Linked DNA regions of Homo sapiens: region 1 is linked to region 2. Evidence: promoter capture Hi-C in 16 types of primary human blood cells and fetal thymus (Javierre and others, 2016). All regions are on one chromosome and are shown on one strand. The core of a region is centred on a gene start or on the middle of the fragment in contact, and the rest is flanking DNA. Distances in the headings are between cores, read along the strand shown.

Region 1 (4,464 bases), core at 213-2,712, 260 kb before region 2:
GAACCTGGGAGGCAGAAGTTGTAGTGAGCGGAAATCAGCCTGGGCGACAGAGCGAGACTCTGTCTCAAAATAAAAAATAAAAAAGAAGTCTTTGTTGAATAAGCACTTGGAGAAAGATATCTGAAAGGATATGTAACAAATGGTTAAGAGTAGTTATTCCTGGGGAGTGACATAAAAGAGAGGCAAGAATTTTAATTCCGTAATCTGCCGTGTTAAATCATGTTATTTTAAAAAGTCATATAGGGTCTTTTAATTTAAACCAAAATATTAAAAATAATCGATCTATGAGGCAGAATGGGGTCAGGGTGAGGCAAGGTGGGGTTGGGGTGTGTGCTGAAGGTCCACTCCACTGTTGCTGGAGGTGGAGACTCCTGGCTGGTGATGGGCTCTGCCAGCAAAGGACACTCATTCATTATCTCAACTATCACTAGTGGTTACTATGTACGCCTATGTTCAGCACCTACTATGCTCTGTACTTGGTATTTTACTGGCCTTATAGGTAGAGAGCTGCTCAATAAGGAGAAATCCCCAGCCCGCACTGGTCCCATCTGACCCCTGAAAGCCTGGGTTTATGTGGCAATGAGTCTGTTGGAATCAGAGTAAGGGACAAAAGCAGACAGAGTAAAGGAGTATATGGGTTCTTAGTCAGTCCTGTCAGTCCTCCAGGACTCAGGACTACCCTAAGTAAGCTGGCAATCTCTGCTCTGCAGGAAGGACTCACCAAGGGGGACCACCTCACATGAAGTAGCTTCCTCCTATAAGTCACAGGGTGGAATATGGCTGTGCCCTATTGGCTATGCTAACCACTCTTTGAGGGACAAACTTTTGAGCAGGAGAAATAAAACCAGATTTGTAATTCTTGATAGGCTGCCTGGTCGTAGAGGTCTGGAGTGGAAGCAACTAGAGAACTAGTGGAAATAAATGAAGAGGAAAGCAAAGAAAGAGAGGGATCAAGGGACAAGCAAGAGAGGAGTAGGGAGAACAGGATGAGGCAGGACAGTCAGACACAGGCCTGATGGTGGGAAGAACTGGAACTATTGCCCATTTTGCCCAATCGGTAAGGTGGCCTTTCTGGATTCTGAATCCTGGTTTTATACCAGAGGGAAGGAGAATTAAATGGAAGACTGAATCCATGCTCTCTAGGGTTCCAGACCCCAAAGATCCAAATATTGTAGGAAGATTGGAAGAAAAATTAAATATCCTCCAACGATGAAACAGATCAAAGCAAACCCTACTTTTTTGTTAGTTACTTTGCAATGGGAAGCAGCATTGGCTTCTTAAAAAAAACAAACAGGCTGGGTGTGGTGGTTCAAGCCTCACTTTGGGAGGCCACAGTGGGCGGATCACCTGAGGCCAGGAATTCAAGACCAGCCTGGCCAACATGGCGAAACCCCGTCTCTACTAAAAATACAAAAATTAGCCAGGTTTGTTGGCACGCACTTGTAATCCCAGCTACTTGGGAGGCCAAGGCAGGAGAATTGTTTGAACCCAGGAGGAGGTTGCAGTGAGTTGAGATCGCGCCACTGCACTCCAGCCTGGGCAACAGAGTGAGACTCTCTCTCAAAAAATAAAAAAAAGAAAGAAAAAAAAGAAAATTTAAAAACAAACAAAAATATTCTCCTAAATCAGACTAGTTCCCTAGTCTTTCAGGGTCTCCTTTCCCTTCTTAAATATTTATGTACCAACAGGGTTCAGATCTAAACTCTCCACTCTTCTCATACTTACACTCCCTGGGCCATCTCATATACTCTTATAGCTTAAAGTACATTGCTTAAAGTAGACCGTCAAATCTGTATTCAGAATCCAGGCCTCTTTTGAGCCCTAGTGTCACATATCCAGCTGCCTATTGGATACTTCCACTTCAGTGTTCCTCAATCACTTCGAACTTTACTTGTAACTAAATTTTTCTCTTCCAACATATCCTTCTACTTGCCACTGTTTCCTGTCTCAATCAGTGGCTGATATCACCCAGATATCAGAAAATCATTCCTTTTTTGTTTTACTTTTTTTAGATGGGGTCTCACTCTGTTACCCAGGCTGGAGTGTAGTGGCATGACCTTGGCTCACTCTAACCTCTGCCTCCCAGGCTTAAGCCATCCTCCCACCTCAGCCTCCCAAGTAGCTGGGACCAGAAGCCCCATGACACCACACCCAGCTAATTTTTTGTATTTTTAGTAGAGAGAGGGTTTCACCATGTTGCCCAGGCAACTCTTCTCCTCACCCTATGTTCTTCTCAACTCTTCTCCTCACCCTATGTTCTACCAATTCTACCTTCTGAAGCAATTTATGTTAGTAGTAAAAGAAAAACCCACAGCATTTCTAATCAAACAAATCTGATCAAAAACAAAAAAATGTTTAACCTTTGTCACTGAGTGTAACCTAAGGCAAGTTACTTAACTGCTATAAGATGGGGAGAATCACAGAGTTGTGGAAAATATTAAACAAGAATAATGCATATATGGCTGGGTGTGGTGGCTAATGCCTGTAATCCCAGCACTTTGGGAGGCCGAGGGAGGCAGATCACCTGAAGTCAGGAGTTCAAGACCAGCCTGGCCAACATGGTAAAACCCCATTTCTACTAAAAATAGAAAAATTAAGCAGATGTGGTGGTACATGCCTGTAATCCCAGCTACTTGGGAGGCTGAGGCAGGAACTGTTTGAATCTGGGAGGTGGAAGTTGCTGTGAGCCAAGATCACAGTCTCTGCACTCCAGCCTGGGTGACAGAGCATGTGAAGCCTAGCACGAAGGTTAGCCCCAAAATATTTGCTACTATTATATATGTTCATGTCATTCCCCTACGTATAGGGTTCGTGTGATTAAATGTCAATATATTCAAAGTACTTAGAAAGTTTCACACAGCGCTAAATATTACCTGTTAACATTACTGAACTGGAAATATTCTTTTCTTTCTATACTATATGACCTAGTCTAAGCCACCATTATCCCTTGCCTAGAATCTTGCAGCTTCCTCTGATCATCCAGTCTTTTCTTCTCCATACTCTTCTCTATAGCTAGTGATCTAAGGACTTCACTGCTTGAAACCCTTTGCCCTTGGAGTAATTTACCAAATGTTCCTTGAGGACATGTGCTCACTACATGTCTGTCTATCACCAGTATAGGGCCTAACATACAACAAAATACTTAATAAATGTATGTAGCTTTTTATTCATTCTTTCATTCAATTAAATCCCTTCATATCTCTCATGGGTTCTCATGCCCAAAGATTACTCCTTTATCTCTTGAGGTTTCAGACACACAGAAAAACCTTGATATCTTGTGAGGATGTCTTTTCTCATCTTGGTTCTGAGAAGTCTATGTGTTGTCACAAGCACTACCAGAATAAACAGATGCTTCCATGTGGGCGTGCCATAGTAATCTCTAAGCCTTTAACATTCACTTTTGCAAGAATCATTCCTAAAGGTCCTAACACTTAAGCACCTACAACAGAGCCTGGACAAAAGAGGTCTAAGTACCCACCAAAAGACTAAGGCTATCTTTTCCTAATCTAGGGTGTGGACATGTATACCACTTGCTTGTCACTTTGAGTTCCCCTTGAAATCATCCCTGAAGTAGTTGGACATAATAACTGAGCAATCGCATAGCTAATTATATGCATATATATGTAAAAGCACCTGGTGACAAATACAATAGTAATAATACACTATGTGCCAGGTACTGTTTTAAGTCCAATTACATTCATTATCTCATTACATCTTCATAATATGTAGATATTATTCTTCCCATGATGAAGGGTACCAAATGCTTTAGAAATTTGCTCAAGGTCACACAGCTAAAGTAGCACAGCAAGGACTTGAACTCAGACAATTTGGTTCCAGAGCCTGAATTTTGTGCTGAGTAGTTTAATATAAATGATCATTCTAAATCATCTCAAAAATCTGAGCTAGATTTCAGAGTCACTAACCTCGATAAAAAGAAATAAAAAGCCGGGCACAGTGGCTCACACCTGTAATCCTAGCACTTTGGGAGGCCAAGGCGGGCAGATCACCTGAGGTCAGGAGTTCGAGACCAGCCTGGCCAACATGGTGAAACCTCATCTCCACTAAAATACAAAAATTAGAGAGGCATGGTGGCGGGCAACTGTAATCCCAGCTACTCGGGAGGCTAAGGCAGGAGAATCGCTTGAACCCAGGAGGTAGAGGTGGCAGTGAGCAGAGATTGCACCACTGCACTCCAGCCTGGGTGACAGAGCAAGACTCCGTCTCAAAAAATAAAAATGATAAATAATAAATAAAAGATTAAAGCAAAAGGCATTTGAATAAGACAGTAGATAGTACATCTTGATCCCATATATAAATCTAAGCTTGTTTCACTAGTATAGATATGCTTTAAGTGCACCATAAGGGACAGAGAAATGTCTGTTGCAAATGTGTGACATTGTAATGCACTACCAATTCAAAATTGAATCAATGCCCCTGAGTAAGCCCTTCTTAGTGCCCAGGAAA
Region 2 (4,207 bases), core at 471-2,970:
GCATTATCATTAAAAATCAGGGGCTGCATTCTCTCCCTCTGTCCCAGTAGTCTGGGAACTAACTCCTCAGGAGCAGGGACTCCCCTTTCTCATCCTGGTGTTTCCTATTGGCAATGCCTGCCACTCAGTAGTAGGCGCTTGTTGACTGAGACTATTGATCACAGGCAGGTTCGAATGTCTTTGTTCCCTCATCTCTACCCCTGTTAAGGGATTACGGAGTGTCCTATTCATTTCGGGCATATAGAAAATGCTGTTAAAGTTCATTGAATTGAATGAAACAATTAATCGTTCTGCAAAATCTGAGCAGAGAAGTCATTTGGTTTCAAAATACTTGGATAAAAACATTACGGTGGCTCACGCCTGTAATTCCAACACTTTGGGAGGCCGAGGCGGGTGGATTACTTGAAACCAGGAGCTCGAGACCCTGACTCTACTAAAAATACAAAAATGAGCCGGTCGTGGTGGCGCGCGCCTGTAAATCTCAGCTACTCAGGAGGCTGAGGCACGAGAACAGCTTGAACCGGGAGGCGGAGGTTGCAGTGAGCCGATATCGCCACTGAACTCCAGTCAGGGCGACAGTGAAACTCTGTCAGAAAAACAAGAAACAAAAAAACTGTGAGGTACTGAGATCACAAACTGGTGCTCAAAATATACTGATTTCCTTTCTCGTCTGGACTAAACGGGGGTAGGGAAGGGTGAGAAGGAGGGGATCGGCCCTCCCAACAAGTCTCATCTTCCCCAGATGCTGCTTGGTGCTCAGGGGCTGCAAGTACTCTGTCCTTGCACAGAGGGTTGGGGACTCCAGCTGTGCATGGGGGCACACATTAGGCCCACAGCTTGTAATGGACCAGTAGTAAAGTAAGGGAGGGGAAGCAGACTCTCTCTTGGAAAGGAGGCTCCTGAGTCCTTCTTGGGGCTTCCCCCACCAACTGTTTCCCAAACCAGCATACAGTAGGCACTTAGTAAATACTAAACCTAGTAAAGGACTGAATGATGGTAGACCGAACCCCCAAAGCAAAAGAGAAAGGGTCCAACAGCGCCTCCTTGCGGTGCTCTGCCCCAAGCCACGGGGAGAAACGTTGCAGCCCGCGCCGAACGCCGGGCAGCACAAAGGATCCCCGACTGCCGGGGAGCGGTGCTCGGAGGGCACAGGTCTACGCCATCCCCCACGCAGTTTCGGAGATGGAGCGCTGGGCCCATGGAGGGAAGGCGGCAGGCTCGGCGGCTCCGGCAGCTTGCTGGGGCAGGGGCTCAAGGCGGCAGTCCGATAGTGGAGGCCGCTGAGAACTGTCACGGAGCTGCGTCTGTACAGCGAGCATCCCTTATTTATTCAGGGCGAGTGTGTATTTGGGGCGGCGTGCAGGGGGCTGACAAAGACCGGAGAGCTCCCGGTGCGGCCGCCGGCGGAGCGAAGACTGGAACCCGTATGAGCGCCCCCCAGCGCCCCTGAGCGCTCGCCGCCGGTGCACGGCGCACCCCGCGGGAGGCAGGGATCAGCAAAGCCGTGCGCCCCGAGGCCCGCCCCCGTCTCCGCACAAAGACCGTGAGTCCCGGGTCCGAGCCTTCCGCGCGGGGATCGGGCGGTTGTCCGGCGGGTCGTCCTTCGACGGCCTCCTGGCCTCGCCGGAGCGGGTGCGGGGAGGCCCACGCAGCGACGGCTGGAGGAGGGGTGGGCGGGGCTGCCGGGGGTGGGGTCCCCGGGGCGGGGCGGGGCGCGCTGTGTCGCGGGTCGGAGCTCGGTCCTGCTGGAGGCCACGGGTGCCACACACTCGGTCCCGACATGATGGCGAGCATGCGAGTGGTGAAGGTAACCGCGTATAGGATGACCCCTTTCTCTTGGCTCCCCTCGCCTCCCGCATTCCCTCCTCCCTCCATCCCCTCCGCGGCTCTCCGAGCACATTTATTTATTTGTCTGGGCACCAGGGCTGGCTGAATCCCTGTCCTCCCCGCCCTCTACTCAGAGGAGGACTGGCCTGCAAGAGTGGCCAGAGCTGGGGTTTTGGGGGTTTGGAGGCCTCTGCTTGAGCCGTTCGCGTGGTGAAGATGAGCCGGCTCCCCCAAAACTGGTTTCAATTTCGCTTTTCCTGCCTGAAACTTGTGATAACAACTGGGTGCATCTCCAGTGCAGGAAAAGTCCTTGGCATCTTGGTGCCAGGCATTCTGCTACTGCTGGTGGTGGGTTATGAACACAGATGACCAGGATGAAGTCCTTGCCTTGGAATAAGCCCATAGCCCATCCCATAATTTGATGCCTGTATTACTAGAGTCCTGAGAAACACGGAATGCTGATTAGAATTTGGGACAAAGTTCCCTGAGTATTCTCTGGAGGAAAAGATGCGGAGGTGGACCTGGAAGGCCTCCTGGAGTAGGTGGCTTGCGTTCGTGAGTTCTACAAGTGTTGAATGCCTACATGTGCTGGCCCTGTTCTAGGAGGGGGGGGGGGGCGGGCAGAGATGAACACAAATCCGGCCCTTGTTGAATTTTGTTCCTATCAGGGACACAATTTGAAATAAGATCTGGAAGGATGGGGAGGGGGCAGTTTCCTCCAGAAGGTGGGAAAACCCAGGGTGTTTGGAGATGGATTAGGGAGGAAGGTGATCCTGGTGAAGTGAGTCTGGCACCCCAAGTCTTTCAGAAGTGCCCCTTCCAGTCTGCAGGGTGGAGGGGCAGGCTCTAGGAAGAGGGTGCCTGCTACCCTCAGCCTCTGAGAAGAAAATGGCCTCAGACTGGGATGCCCAGAGCAGGCTTGGCCTAGATACTAAATCTGGAGGTTGGCAGCAAAATGAGGCAGAGGGTCTTTCCAGCCAAGTGGAAGAGAGATGGGAGCCAGAATTTATTGCATTGGAACCATTACATGCCAAACGGTTTACATGGTTATTTCATCTAATTCGCACAGCAGTTCTGTGAGATAAGTAATATATACCCGCATTTTACAAATGAGGAAATTGAGGCACAGAGGAAATAACTTGCTTGTCCAGAGTCTTTCAGTAAGGAGCAATGGGACTGGAATATGAAACCAGGTCCACAGGCCTCCAGCCTGCAGGCTCTCTTAATGGCCTTTCTACTTTCATTTTCTGTTCCTCTGAGTCAGGTGATTTCCTAGTAGGCAGTAGGAAAGAACTGTGTGTTTTAGGTTGGGTTTCAACTTCCTCAGGCTTTGGGAAAGTTCTGGCAGAACTCATCCTAAACAGATAAAGTTCAAGTGTCTTTATCTTTCCAAGACCTGGAAAATGTCTATTCCAGATCTTCTCCGGTCAGCCCTGGGCTTTGTTCTTGCCAAAGAGTCACAGATGATAGAGAAACTCTTACAAGTGCAGATGCTTCTAGTTTGGGGTAAAGATAAATGAAGGGCCATTGACCCTGGGTGGAAGGCACCAGAAGCAGCTTATTGGTTGAACAGAAATAGAACATAGGCTGAGGGATAGGAGGGGGGCATGGGATGTGTTTATATTATATGTTGGGGGTGGGGGTAAGGCAGAGAAAGTTCAAATGGTCCACAGTGTTAAAGGACCCCTCCCCACTTGTGGACTGGGTTTGGAGAGCTTCAGTTTCTCAACCTCATCACTACTGACATTTTGGGTCACATAACTGTTATGTATCCATTGTATGTTTTTAGATTTGAGGTTACTACAAGGTTTGTAAATAATATCTTATAACCTGTTATTTTAAACTGATGACAAGTTAACACTGATTACATAAACAAACAAGCAAAATGAAAACTAATGAAGGCCAGGCGTGGTGTCCCACTCCTGTAATATCAGCACTTTGGGAGGCTGAGGTTCGCGGACTGCTTGAGCCTAGGAGTTCGAGACCAGCCTGGGTAACACAGCCAAACCCCATCTCTACAAAAAGTACCAAAATTAGCCGGGCATGGTAGCACACTGCTGTAGTCCTAGCTACTTGGGAGGCTGAGGTAGCAAGATCACCTGAGCCCAGGAGGTTGAGGCTGCAGTGAGCTGTGATTGTGCCACTGGACTCCAATCTGGGTGACAGAGTGAGACATTGTCTCAAAAAAAAAAAAAAAAAAAAAAAAAACAACTAATACAAACTGTATACTTTAACTTCGTCTTTCCGCTTACTAACTTTTTGTTGTTTCTATTTCTTTCCTTCTTTCTTTCTCTCTCCCTTTCTTTCCTTCCTTCCTTCCTTAAGATGGAGTTTCACTCTTGTTGCCCAGGCTGGAGTGCAATGGTGCCATCTCAGCTCA

Evidence for each region. Contacts are between HindIII fragments. The CHiCAGO score rates a contact against its expected background, and 5 or more counts as called.
Region 1: a contact is called between a fragment that was not itself captured here and the fragment with the promoter of UBE2L6 in region 2, in 1 of 17 cell types (neutrophils). The highest score is 9.0, in neutrophils.

The regions. Positions count from the first base shown.
Region 1 is chr11:57,824,760-57,829,223 of GRCh38, reverse strand. No RefSeq gene overlaps it. Among named protein-coding and RNA genes, the nearest start is that of CTNND1, 65 kb to the right of the region's middle. The HindIII fragment of the contact is 5,724 bases long and covers 1-4,324 here.
Region 2 is chr11:57,565,185-57,569,391 of GRCh38, reverse strand. UBE2L6 (ubiquitin conjugating enzyme E2 L6) reads left to right here and starts at 1,720. Exons shown (of 4, transcript NM_004223.5): 1 at 1,720-1,807. The coding sequence starts at 1,781. RefSeq lists a silencer at 1,357-1,716 and an enhancer at 2,970-3,319. The HindIII fragment of the contact is 19,025 bases long and covers 1-4,207 here.